Linked DNA regions of Homo sapiens: regions 2 and 3 are each linked to region 1. Evidence: promoter capture Hi-C in 16 types of primary human blood cells and fetal thymus (Javierre and others, 2016). All regions are on one chromosome and are shown on one strand. Each heading gives the region's core, a stretch centred on a gene start or on the middle of the fragment in contact. The rest is flanking DNA. Distances are from core to core; before and after follow the strand shown. Region 1 holds the start of STAG1 (STAG1 cohesin complex component). Region 2 overlaps ARMC8 (armadillo repeat containing 8). Region 3 holds the start of NME9 (NME/NM23 family member 9).

The links. The method cuts DNA at HindIII sites, captures the fragments that hold promoters and counts their contacts. A CHiCAGO score of 5 or more calls a contact.
Region 2: a fragment that was not itself captured here is called in contact with the fragment with the promoter of STAG1 in region 1 in 1 of 17 cell types (monocytes); the score reaches 5.9 in monocytes.
Region 3: the fragment with the promoter of NME9 here is called in contact with the fragment with the promoter of STAG1 in region 1 in 1 of 17 cell types (naive CD8 T cells); the score reaches 5.2 in naive CD8 T cells.

Annotation. Positions count from the first base shown.
Region 1 is chr3:136,750,933-136,755,506 of GRCh38, reverse strand. STAG1 (STAG1 cohesin complex component) reads left to right here and starts at 3,129. Exons shown (of 34, transcript NM_005862.3): 1 at 3,129-3,312. STAG1-DT (STAG1 divergent transcript) reads right to left here and starts at 2,836. Exons shown (of 1, transcript NR_185911.1): 1 at 1-2,836. RefSeq lists enhancers at 1,821-2,752, 2,546-2,865, 2,753-3,684 and silencers at 2,876-3,105, 3,426-3,805. The HindIII fragment of the contact is 7,208 bases long and covers 1,791-4,574 here.
Region 2 is chr3:138,219,046-138,223,854 of GRCh38, reverse strand. ARMC8 (armadillo repeat containing 8) reads right to left here. Exons shown (of 22, transcript NM_001363941.2): 3 at 1,858-1,929; 4 at 324-466; 5 at 122-219. Among named protein-coding and RNA genes, the nearest start is that of ARMC8, 34 kb to the right of the region's middle. RefSeq lists a silencer at 4,356-4,425. The HindIII fragment of the contact is 2,960 bases long and covers 1,354-4,313 here.
Region 3 is chr3:138,328,219-138,332,491 of GRCh38, reverse strand. NME9 (NME/NM23 family member 9) reads left to right here and starts at 2,641. Exons shown (of 11, transcript NM_001349018.2): 1 at 2,641-3,189. The coding sequence starts at 3,157. It overlaps LOC124909438 (a long non-coding RNA gene), which reads right to left and starts at 2,559. Exons shown (of 2, transcript XR_007096113.1): 1 at 2,322-2,559. The HindIII fragment of the contact is 16,828 bases long and covers 1-4,273 here.

The sequences.
Region 1 (4,574 bases), core at 1,880-4,379:
AGAGGGAAGGTGGGTCAATGGCACCTACTTCTGGACCTAGCAAGGCTGAGGTGTGAGAATCACTTGAGCCCAAGTCAGAGGTTGCAGTGAGCTATGACTGCACCACTGCCCTCCAGCCTGGGCAACACGGCAAGACCCTGTCTCAAAAACAAACAAACAAACACAAACAAAAGGGAGGTGAATGAAGGGAGAGGTGTTTACAAGGCTAGTGCAATAGTTTTGGTGTAAGGCAATGGGAGGGGAGAAGGGTTTGAATAAGGATGGCAGCAGTAGAAAAAAAAGCAAGCCATCTGAATGAGGTATGGTGGGACTTAGGCTTTTTTGAAAGAAAATAATCAAGTCTGGCCCTACAATTTAGAGCCTAGGCTGCTATGTAATTATTTATAAACAATTTATAAAATTGATTATAAAAATGACTTATAATCAATTATTAAGTGTGAGGGCAAAATACAATTTTAGATTTCTATAAACTTAGAAAGTTGATTACCCATGCCCTCAGAGTTAAAAAAATGCTAAAAACTTCTTAGTAAGATTAAAAACAATAAATGTAATAATGCTGATGGCATTTCTATAATATATTAAATAGTTTAAATATTAAATAGTTAAATAGTTTAACACTCGTAACAACCCTATGAGATTGGTACTGTTGCTATTTCCATTTTGCAGTTGAGGAAATTGAGACAGAAAGAGATTTGTCTAAGGTTACAAAGCTTTCCAGAGCAGTCTGGTTTCACAGTTCATGTTCTTAATCACTACACTAGCTGAAATTACAATGTTAGGATAAATTAGGAAATTCAAATAAGAGAGATGAATTATTTTAAGTGTTTGAGCTGCAGCTTTCTGGCAAGTAGCTGAACACGAGGAAACTCAGTTAAGGAAAAATCAAGAACAGACTAATTTTGGGAGACCTAAGAGAAGGCATGTAGTAGAGAACAGATTGAAGAAAGAGGAGGTGCTAGCAAAGAAATCAGAAGACCAGCAAACTAGGTAGGTGTAGATCCGGGGAAGTGTCTTAAAAGAAAGGGAAAAAGGGTTTCAAGTAGGGGATGGGGATTGGTGAAAACCGTAACTGTTTCTTTTGAGAATGTGTCAATGAAAGGAACGTTGATAGCATAGCAACTGGAGGGAGTAACATCACTGAATTAAAAAAAAAAAAAAGACAAAAGAAACTTTTTTTTTTTGAGACAGAGTCTCACTCTTATCGCCCAAGCTGGAGTGCAGTGGCGTGATCTCGGCTCACTGCAACCTTCACCTCCCGGGTTCGAGAGATTCTCCTGCCTCAGCCTCCCGAGTAGCTGGCATTACAGGCGCACACCAGCACGCCTGGCTGTTTGTATTTTTAGTAGAGACAGGGTTTCACCATGTTGGCCAGGGTAGTCTCGAACTCCTGACCTCATGTTATCTGCCCGCCTCTGCCTCACAACGTGCTGGTATTACAGGTGTGAGCCACCGCACCCAGCCAAGACAACAGAAACTTCTGAGAAACAGAAAGGAAGAAGACAGTGGATAAGAACATATTTACATTATAAGGCGCTAGGAAAGTAGTGGTGGAAGGAGAAGGTGGGAAGGGATGGCATAGTTTCAGGCAGAGGGAGTGGCTTTGGAGAGAAGGGTTCTGGGTTAATTTGGTTAGAAGTTTTGGGATCACGAACAGGAGGTGGTCACAGATATTTTATAATGGAGGCAAGGTCAAACCGGAATTGGAGTCCCATAGCTCTGAGCCCAGGAAACTGGATGAATTTATCTATTAGTATGGACTGGGACTGGCATCTTTAACAACATGGAAAGCTTGAAACAGTCTTTGTGGAAAATAGGAGATCAGCCAGAGATTAGAAGAAAACGCAAGAAAATTATAAGTAGGAGTCCAGTCACGAATTCATATCCAATCTGGTCAGTTATGACTTCCTCCAGCGAAAAGCCACACATCTTGCAAACCCTTGAGAGAGAAAACACAAATAGGGGTAACCTACTGGAGACAGGCCCTTAAGACTATAAAGTAGTTGAGCGATTCCATACTGAAATAGAGTTGGCTATAGCGATAGAGAAGTTAGTCATATATGGGGCTAATGATCCAGGAGAGTAAGGATTCACTTTTGTGGTGAAAAGTTGTAAGCAGGTGAAAGGTAGGGATCCATGGCCACGGACGGGCAGGTGGAGATCAGGGAAGAGGCGACGTTAAACATAAATAGTTTGTTAATGATTTCACCTTACTGATTATTTCTCTTTTGGCATCTAGAAGGCTAAGATTCTCATGTGTATTTCAGAGCTACTGAAAGTAGTCCTAGGTTGTGGAGGGAGAAATCCACTTTCACAGCTGAGTCTATCTTCTCAGTCTAGTTATATTCTCCTCTCACAAACTAGCCAATGCTGCCGCCTTATGCAAAGCCGACACCACGGAAAGATGTGCTTTACAGAGGCAGGATGACGCCAATCGGCCTAGGGCCGGCGGTGTTTCGTCTAGATTAATGGCGAGGGAAGTCCCCAATAGTCCTTTTGAAACCTTTTCACTCTTGCCTGGTGAAAGCGCTTGTCAGCCGTAAATCGCGAATACAATGCTAAGCTCTGAGGCCCTTGCTAAATCCAAGTAGGAGCAGGGATCTGCGCGGCCTCACCCTCGGGTTTCCGCAGGGCGTCTCGAGAGCTGCGGATGGGGGCAGCAGGAGCCGGGCGGGAACAGAGGAAAGCGCCGGCCCTGAGACCTAGGGAGGAGCCTCGGTGAAGGAACCCGGGGCGGGTTCCTGCCTAGATCTCCAAGAAGCTCCAAAAATGGCGGGCGGCAACTCGGCGAGCCGGACGCGCAGGCGCCACCGTGGCCGTCCTTCCGCCAGCCGCGGGCGGCCCAAGAACCGTCCACAGCGCCCTTATCCAGAAGCCTACGCCTCTCGCGATTGGCTGAACTGCGCGAGCGCTCCGTGTGGGGGCGGGGCCGCCACGCAGCGGCCACGTTTCCCGCCCCGCTGGTGCGCGTGCGCGCAATCCCCACTGGAAAGCGTTTGCGCGCGCCCCTGCCGCGGCCCCTAGCTCGCGCCTCAGCTCCCTCCCCTTTCCGGGCAGGCCCGTCCCGTCAGCAAGGCAGTGAGCACCGCGGCCAGCAGAGGGCGGTCCGGACCCAAGTCTGCAGCGGCGCCATTGGCGTGTGGAAAATGCCACCAGATGGCGGGTTAGGATTGCAGCTCCGTTGAAGGCGCGGCCCCCGCTCCCGAACCCCCGGCGACCACCCCGTAACAACCCCCCCACATCGGGAATAACACACCGGAGACTTTTGGGGGGAAACTAGGTCGATGGTCGGCGGCGCCCGGATGGGCAGCTGAGGTGAGTGCGGGCGGCGGCGACGGCGGCGGGGGGCGGGAAAGAGGGGGAATGCGGCGGCAGCGGCGCGGGGGCTGGAAGCGCCGATCCAAGATGGAGGCCGGGCGAGAGCGAGAGAGCGCGAGCGGCGAGCGGGCGGGCCGGGCGCGGGCCCCGTGCGGGGGAGGGAGGCCGCGCGGGCCTGTGCGGGGTGCGGCGGTCGTGGGCCGTCCGAGTGCCCGGAGAGACGTCTGTGGGCGCGGTGGGCACCCCGGCGTCTTCGTCGCTTGCCACCCCTCCCGCGGGCACCAAAAATTTTGCCCCCGCCCGCCCGGGCACTACGGCGACAGGCGCGGAAGCCTTTGTGGCGCGCTCGGGCCCGCCGCCAAGCCCGCCCTCCGCCCCCCCCCGCCCGGGCTCTCGGGAGTCGCCCGCGCCCAGCGGGGCCGGGCCGACGCGGGCTGGCGCGAATGCCTTCCGCCGCCTGCCGACCTGCGTTTCTGCGGTGTTTTAGCGGCGGCGGCGTCACATGACAACGAGTTCATTTCAGCGGAGGGGCCTGGGGGGTCGCTCGGCGGGGCGGCTGGCCCAGGCTTCTTGTTGGCGGGGTGGGGCAGCGGGGTGGCGGCTGGGGGAGATGCATCAATGCTGGGCTTTCCAGCTATCTGCCCTCTCAGCCCCCGACGGGGGCCTCCTTGTGAAACGTGTCCAGGCCTAAGCACTGCCCCGCTAGTTTGCCAGTCCCCTGAGAGACGAGGCCAATAAAAGTTGTTTTCCCTCCTTTCTCGAGGTGGGGGCGGGGTGGGAAACTAGAGTGCTTGGAGTTGGACCTGAGCCCCGTTTGCAGGGTCCGAACTGGGTTCTTCTTGTATGGTATGGGTACTAAGAAATTTTCAGGTTTTAGGATTGTCACGTCACCCCCATCTACCCACATTTGAAATGTTATCTGTCGATTCTCTTCACATTGCAGGGAATCGTGCTCCGGGAGTATAAGTCATAGGATAGTTTTGGACACTTACAGACAAAAAAAAAACAAAAAAAAAAAACGCAATTTGTCATAAAAAAAAATTATTTGCTGTTAAAGTTGGTGTTAAGATGGATAGAGTTTATTCTCGTGATTCTGACTAGAAAGACTTGCATCTTCGCAAAAATAGTGTTTACTTGAGAAAGTATCTGAATTGGCACAAAGTTGTGTGATTTGTAACTTATCTGGAATTTGAATGACTCTACATTTTAGTTTTCCTCGTGTTTTAAGAAAATTGCACATTCCGATGGTGAAGCACTTA
Region 2 (4,809 bases), core at 1,584-4,083, 1.5 Mb before region 1:
ACCATGACCAACTGAGACTTTTTTACATAACACAGTTATGATGAGTCTGAAGATGCTAAGCAAATTAGGAGTAGGCTGTTGGTGAAATGTAACTAATGTCTCAAATACATCTAAAACTCACTGTATACAGTAGCTCCTCTGGAGTGACAGGACTGGTGAAGATGGTACGCAGGCATCGGAGGCAAGCTTCAATAAACTTCAGGTCTGGGGACAGTAGTCCTATTAACAGAAATGAGATTTAGGACTAATCCTTTCAACCAGTATTTAAAGCACTGCAAACTGATTCTTAACCTTAATTGAGCAAAAATGGCTTCCCTACATACCTTGCAATAAGGCAGGGATAATATGGCAGTCCAGTAGAGACTTGACATTGTTTTCAGTACCCATAGCAAGACTTCCCAACACCACTGCACATTCAGTTTTCAGCTCTGTGCTTGAGGTTTCTTGCTGAAGCAAGTACAACAATCTAAAAAGAAGGAACTTAATAAACGAAGAGACTAAAAAATTTAAACAAGACTCAATGTGACCAAAAAAGGCTGTGCAGTCCACATACTAAAAATATGGTTGGCTGAGTTTATATGAATCCAATGGTCATTTGTTTATCTCATCTGCTAATTAAAGAAACATCTGGAAAAAAAATCTAGAAGAGGTTTTGAAAAAAAGAACTATCATATTCTTAGAGTTTATAAAAAGTGTAAATCTGAAAGTTGTCCACAGATAGTCTCTGTAGAAACAGCGTCATCAGAGTCCATGTCATCTACCACTTCCTGCTGGGTCTCCAAAATATGAAGACTCTCAAATGCCATGTGCTGCCAGATCTTAAACTCAAACTAGAAATGCTACTGCTCTGAATCCAGAGCAGTGGTGCAGTTTGTAGATATCGAGCCTATAGGGAATATTCAGAGCCCTTGTGCAGCTCCTCAAGCAAAGGTAGTTTCTTCTTTCTCCAGCTCTCTCATTTGGAAAAGGAAGAGATCCTCTCATTTCCACTCCAGCCCAGCTTGCCAAACAAATACTCCCCAAACCCTAACCTTCCTCCACTTATAACCATCTACCTTATGTTCTAAGACAGGACCCTCATGCTCCATAAAGCACTATTTATATATACCAAACATAAATCCCCTAAGAAAGGCTGCTGACAGCTTTATAGTTACTAAAGTATATGTTTGAGGTTGGTGAGTTAAAACACTTAAACCATTAATTCTGTATCAAAACCAGAAAATAAGGAGAAAAAAACAAAATAATAAATAATTCTGAATGAAAAGCTAATAGCAATTGCACAGAAAACTTAGCTCTGAGGAGCAAAAGTAAAGAGGAAGTTATGTAACTGTCATTGCCTGCCTAAAGGAAGCTTATTAGGTCATCAAAAGAAGAAATTAAACTTCCTAAACTTCTTACGTTAACTTAAAAAACAGCAAGTTGTAAAAATCAGAAGTTAAAAAATGAAACTGGATTAAAAATCAAGCAGGGTTTTTTTCCTTTAAATTCAAAAAGGTCTTAAGGCTCCTAATAAATTACCCACTCACACAAAAAACTGCCAAGGCTCTAAGGAAATGGAGAAGAAAGTATCAGGCTGTTGTACATTGCATATGTACTTTACGAACCCTTTTGTCATCAGGTCAAAGGTCTTCCTGAGTTTCCAAAATGTATTAACACATTCACTTCTTACTACATTCTCTGTTACTTTATAATTTTTTTCCTTAAAGATAGTTTAAATACTTACATTTATTTTTAAAAATAGGATTTATTTTAAGAATTAGACAGACAATACAGGAAAAATGGGTTCTATAATTGAGAGTAAGAAATACATTAGAAACTAGTATGAATGGCAAGAAAGGGGTGAGACAGCAAACATACCTTGGAACAGCTCCTAAAACAATGAGATTGGCTTTCTGCTTGTTGTTTCCAATTACAGCATTTTTCATGTCTCTGAATTAAGGGGAAGAAAAAATAAAGTATGTTGAGACAGCACTGAAGAAAAATCAAAGATCATTCTACTTCATTATGCAATATCTTAGATTTGACAAAGTAAAAGCACTAACCTTTTTTCACCTAAAGTACTAATGAAGGGATAGAGATAGGTGCAGAGTGAATGTGGGGGCTGTAAAACGGCGTATTGTAGAAAGTGAGAGATATCCTGAGTACTGGCGAAAGACTTCCAGTACAGAATTGAGTTCTTCTAGAAAGGGTACCTACCAATACTTTGGATACAAAGGAATACAGGCCACCCTCACGCTCAGCTCTAAGAGTAGGGAGTGAGTTAAACGAACAACAACAACAACAGAAAAAACAGCCCACAGAACATTAACTCCTTGTTTCAATGATCACACTTTGTTCACTTTTTTTTTTACTTCTTTATATATTATTTCTTACAATTCCATTTTATCTGCTTTATTGTCTTACTAACTGTACTCCTTTGTTATTTTCCAATGCATCTTTTAATTTATCACAGTCAGTCTTCAAGTGATATTAGCCCATTGCACATGTATTTTAAGAGCCTTGCATATGTATTTCCACTTTCCCATTCATTTTTTGGGCTGCTGTTATACAATATTTTTAAATTGCTTAGAAACAACATAATACATTGTTACTATTTTTGCTTAAGCAGCCAGTTATCTCTTAAGGCGATTTAAAAAATAACAAAGAATCTTTTACATTTCTCAGATATTCACAGTATTTTTTATTCTAGCTATACAGAGCTCTATACTTCACCAGGAGCAAAACTCTATTCCACAATAAGAGAACCTCTACCACTGATCACTTGGCTCACAAATTTGTGGTTGGTTCAAAAGGAAATGTAGAGAAAAAATAAATAGCTCAAAATAAACCCAGTACTACTAATAAAATGTTTAAAAAAACTTCCCTGGCCGGGCACGGTGACTCACACCTGTAATCCCAGCTCTTTGGGAGGCCTAGGCAGGCAGATTGCTTGAACTCAGGAGTTCAAGATCAGACTGAACAACATGGCGAAACTCCATCTCTACAAATAATACAAAAATTAGCCAGGTGTGGTGGCACGCACTTGTGGTCCCAGCTACCTGGGGGGCTAAGGTAGGAGGATCACTTCAGCTGGGGAGGTGGAGGTTGCAGTGAGCAGAGATCGCGCCACTGCACCCCAGTCAGGGTGACAGAACGAGACTCCATCTCAAAAAAAAAAAAAAGAAAAAAAAATCAACAAATAAATGTTATAGTCAGCATACATTTCTAACACCAATCATATTTACTGGCATTAAAGAACCTGGTAACGATTAACCCTTGTCTTCAATTGCCTTTTTTGATTATTGCAGAAAAATACTGCAACAACTAGTGATGTGCTAAAAGCAGATTTTCCCTACAAGTTTCTGAATGGCATTTTTACAAGTCAAGCCAAATACTGAGAATGCCTGGTCTTTCTTCCATTAGCTCAGTGCCTGAGGGTAGGGCTTTTTTTCCAGGCCTGACCTATCCCTCTGTAAAGTATCCCTCAGATCTTCTATATGGTTTACAAGAAATAAGTAGCAATTTTTTTGTTGTTGTTTATGGGACTGAACTGAATGAAGTTTACTGAGGTTGTTAGCAAGTTCTGATACATGAATATAAAACTATATGATATCAAAGGATCAATTAGCAAAGTTAAAGTTAGTAAGAGATTTCTAAGCTCCCGCATCCTCATGGATGCCTGTTTTCTTTAGAGGCTTTAGTTCCTAATCATCAGCATATGGACCTTAACCTACCAGCTTGTTGTTCACTTTCATTGTCTTCCTTTCTCTTAATGTGTTCTGCCTATACTAATGTAGAACATTCATTTATCCAGCCCCTACCTACTTAGAGTCTGTGTAGGCTAAGTGCCATTCTGAATGCTTTCTATTCCAGAACTCCCAACCCTAATATTTCCCCAGTTTTTCCTCTCCATTCTTCTTAAGCAGAAATGAGCGGTCCCTAACATTACCAAATGAACCCATTCCAAACATCTCAAACCATGCCATGTTTTTACAGACAAGAGCAAACAAAAACCTGTCCAACACCAATTTTCTAATTCTCTTAATAGTTTACAAAAAGGACATGAAGGAGGTAACTGATGGCAACAGAGGAAATGCCAACTAAAGAGAACACAATACAATGGAACAATGTCTAAAGAAAAAGATTCTCGCTTTGGCTTTAGTAAGTAAATATACCTGTGCTAGATAAGGAAAAAAAGATGTTAATAAATTCTATTCAATTGTTGCTATAAAGGAATGTTAATAGATCACTTCCATGAAGAATTAAAATCAAAAGGATTAACAGGATTAAGCAATCAATTTCAGATGACAACATTCAGCCATCTAGATGAAGCTTCTTTCAGTTCCCAGAGTGTAGTTATTCTTTCTCCGTCATCTCCTTATCCCCTCCCTCATACTTTCCCCTGACTAGCTTTACTCATCCTTCAGGTCTGAATGTCACTTCCTCAGGAAGCATGCCCTGAAACCCCCAGGTCATCACTTTGTTAGAGTAAAAGTCTATCTCCTCCTGAGAGGCAAGAAAGCCAATCTGACCTGGAAATATCAAAGCAGTTACTGTCAGTAGATCATTATTTATAGTGATTCTAGATATCCATTATTTTTGTAAAATGCAAACTCACAGCTATCATCCAAGATGGGAACACAACAACACTATCCAAGATTTCTACATTACTTTCAAATTTACAAAGCATTCCATATCCACTACTTAATTTCATCTTCATCATAATCTAGAGTAATATTAACTCCATTTTACAGAGAGAAAGCTACAACTCAGGATTGGCCTTTTTTCAGAACCCAATATTAAATGACAGAGCCAGTCTCAACCCATGTC
Region 3 (4,273 bases), core at 1,392-3,891, 1.6 Mb before region 1:
TAGATACATTTGAAAAAATCTGACTTTTGGATAATAAATAAAAACACTGACCCAGCGGGGAGCAGTGGCTCATGCCTGTAATCCCAGCACTTTGGGAGGCTGAGGCAGGCGGATCATAAGGTCAAGAGATCTAGACCATCCTGGCCAACCAACGGGGTAAAACCCCATCTCTACTAAAAATACAAAAATTAGCTGGGCATAGTGCCACATGCCTGTAGTCCCAGCTACTCGGGAGGCTGAGGCAGGAGAATTGCTTGAACGCGGGAGGCGGAGGTTGCAGTGAGCTGAGATCACGCCACTGCACTCCAGCCCAGGTGACAGAGCAAGACTCTGTCTCAAAAAAAAACCAAAAAAACAAAAACAACAACAACAAAAAAAACCATTCACCTGTGTCACAAAACATGTAAAAGATGGAAGTTTTATTAAAAAGCAGGAGTGGCCCAAGGTGATTCATCTGGGAAAAAACTGATGAGGTTCCATGTTGTCCAAACTGTAATTTTTTTTTTCTTTGAGATGGAGTCTTGTTCTGTCACCCAGGCTGGAGTGCAGTGGCACGATCTTGGCTCACTGCAACCTCCGTCTTCTGGGTTCAAGTGATTCTCCTGCCTCAGCCTCCCAAGTAGCTGGGATTATAGGCATGCACCACCAGGCCCAGTTATTTGATACTTTTTTTTAGTAGAGACAGGGTTTCACCATGTTGGCCAGGCTCCTGCCCTCAAGTGATCCACCTGCCTCGGCCTCCCAGAGTGCTGGGATTACAGGCGTGAGCTACTGCACCCTACCCAAACTGTACACTTTTGAAAGTGAGAGGGGTTGCTATTAATAATTGCATGGGACAACAGGTGAAAAGTGGGGGTGTCCCAGGCAAACTGGGACATGTGGTTTACCTAAATTTGTTTCTGAGGTTTAGCCTGGCAAAGATGTGAGTACATTTTGTAATAGAGACCACATGGTAAGAAATTTAACCCTTTCAGAAAGAATAAATGTCACTATCTTTCCATGTGCTGGCAAGAGGAATTTAGCATCTGATTTGAATTTTATTTTGGAAACTAAATTCTAAGGGAGATTCCACACCATTCAAGAGCTTCAGCAACCACCACCTTGTGGCAATGAACATGATTTGCATCTAGTCAACTCAGTTTGCAATGTGGTGTCTTAAGGACTGCCTGTGGCTCTGCGTAATATTATCATGGAACTGAATATTGCCATGGGACTGAATGCAAGAAAAGAGTAGGTGGATTCGGAGCTGAAGTGGGAGAAGGCAGGATGACAGGTAGGAAGATGTTCGGTCTCCAGTATACCCATCGCCCTGTACTTCACAGAGGGTTGCTGGGTACCTCATGGCCAAACAGGGTATCAGCACTCCCTGGATGGAAATCATTTGGTGTATGCTTCACTTAGGAAGAATTGATATCTTAACAATATTAATTCTTCCTATCCATGAACACGGAATATTTCTTCATTTATTTAAATCTGTGAGATCTCTTTCATCAGCTGTGATTGATTCCTAGTTTAATTCTATTGCAGTCAGAGAACATACTTTGTTCTATCCTTTTAAATTTGTTAAGCTATGTTTTATGGCCTAGATTGTGGTCTATCTCAGTGAATGTCCCATGTGAGCTTGAGAAAGAATCTATATTCCGCTGTTGTTGAACTAAATATTGCATAAATGTCAATTAGATCAATTTGATATTTTTCAGTTCAACTATATCCTTGCTCATTTGCTTCTGCTGGATGTATTAATTACTTTTTAAAAATGGTATGAAAGCATTCTATTATAATACTGAGTTTACCTATTTTTCCTTGCAGTTTTATCTTCTTTTGCCTCACATATTTCGGTGCTCTGTTTTTAAGTACATACATATTAAGTATTGTTATGTCTTCCCAAATAACTGATCCCTTTAACTTTATGTAATGTCCCTGTTTATACCTGATAAATTTCCTTGTTCTGAAGTCTGCTTTTCTTGAAATTAACATACCTACTTCAGCTATTTTTTTAATTAGTGTCAGCCTGGTATAGCTTTCTCTATCCTTTTGCTTTTAATGTATTTTCTTGTGGATAACACACGATTGGGCTTTGTTTGTTTTTGAAATCCATTCTGACAATCTCTTTTTTAATTGGTGTAATCAGATTATTCACATTTAAAGTGGTTATTGATACAGTTGGATTAATATCTACAATGTCTGTAACTGTTTTGTATGTGTCTCACTTGACTTTCATATCTAATTTTGAATTTGTAATTTCATATTCTTTGCCTTAAAGAGAACGCTTGCAGATCCCTCAAAACCTGGAGACACCCCCCACCTTGCACACATTATACCGGTATGTGATGGTAGAAAAGCTGCACATCAGTCTTGGCAGGCAGGGCAGGAGGGATGCAGGGATTCACAGATGCGACTGTGCAACGCACAGATGCACTGGGTCTTTGCTTGGTGGGTTCGAAGCCTCCAGACGCTGACAAACACTGCAGCCAATGAGTGGGTTCCTATGGTCCGATATGGAGGGCAAGGGGCGGGACTCCCTCCTGCCTCTCCCTGGCTGGGTTCAGAGCCTCCGCGGAGAGACTGCGTTGGGCCCAGAGTGGGCGTGGCTTACGTGTCCGCCGGCTTTCCTGGCAGGCCTGGCGGGGGGGCCAGGTTGCCATGACGACCGCGGCTAGGTCGCGGCAGACTCGGTTGGTGACTCCGGGCGCGTCGAAGATCTTGTACCTGTCGTTCGCAGTGGCTCACTTTCCCAGTAATCCATAAGAACAGCAGGGATAACAGGGTCCCATGTCGTTTTTTTGTCAGAATTCCTCGACTGGCGACCCTGTGCCCGACAGGCTGCACCGCGCCCGGCGCACTGACTCCGGCCTCTGCGCGCGCCCCCTGGCCGGCTCCGGGGTGGGGAGGGGGCTTCGCAGATCCCCAGAAAACCGCCCGGCGAGCCACGAGCCCGTGGACTGCAGGCTCCGCTTCCTCGCGGGGTGTTCACTTTGTATCAGTGTGCTGATTTGCCGCCAGTTAGAAGCACCTTAAAAAGGGGCCGGGGGCCGTAGGAGGGGGGCTTGTCTGAAGGAGGCTCTGGGCTTGCTGATCCACGCAGCGGTTTGTCGCGAGGCTGCGGGGGAACGGCCCACGGCCGCGGTAACAGGGCTTCGTCTTCTTTGCAGAGCCATGGGCAGCAGGAAGAAGGAAATTGCCCTGCAGGTAAGCCTCAAGGGGCGCTAGCTTCCAGCTCTGGGTTGGGCTCGGGGAAGAGGAGGGTGATTAGAGCGGGGTTGCAGTATAAAAGTGACATTCTGTTTGCCAGCAGTACGTGACAGTGTTCTCAAACTTGAGTGATGTACCCTTCCGTCTTAAAGGGACAAAACTTATCTTGGAACCCCAGTGATGACAAATTTTACGCAAACAAAATTAATGCAAACAAAACTGAGTAGAAGCTGTTTACATTTATAGTGCTTATACAACCATAAAACCTAAACATGCATTAAATAAAACTATAAACTAAGAAAATACGAATCAACATAACTCGATGTGACCGTTATTTTGTTCTTGTTGAAATACAACTGCAGCTTGCACAGAGAATACAGTATAGGTTCTTTTGACTTTGGGCATGAGTCTGTAACTGTGTGCTCTGTGGAGACCCAGTTTTCCCACCACTGTTCTCATCAAATTTCACTTATTAACAAATATGTTTTGAGATATATTATGTGCTGGACATATGTTATATAGAGTGTCTTACTTCATTTGCATGTGGGACAAGTGAATTCAGAAGCCAGCAGCTGCTCTTCTTCTTGGTCCTGGACAATAGATAGTGGTTGATTCTGAAGTGATGGTAAAAACATGCAGGCATAGACCCTGGAATTAGGAGAGAGTGCTTGGTCATAAGGAGATCAGCTGGATGATCTGCAACATGGGAACATTTTAAAACGAACTTAAAATGCCTCATCATCAGCTGGCCCCAGTAAGATGCATACCAAGGCTACAGCGCCTCCTAGATAATAGAGCATTAGTGGTTTTGAGACATCTGGTTTCTCTCTTATTGTCCTCAGCAGGACCAGCAGTTTGCATGTGGATTTCAAAAGCCTAGTGGTTTAAAAAAGAGGAAAGGGGAAAGCAGCATCATTCTAAGGGTACCCCATGCTGGGGGTGGGAGGGGTGTGGGGTGGGGTGGGGTGGGATTTTTAGACTGGAAGTCAGAAGACCTGATGTAGTTCTTGTGTCCTCTATAGCCAACTGTGTCTTTGACTACATCACATAACCTCTCCAGGCTATAGCTTGCCCATCTATG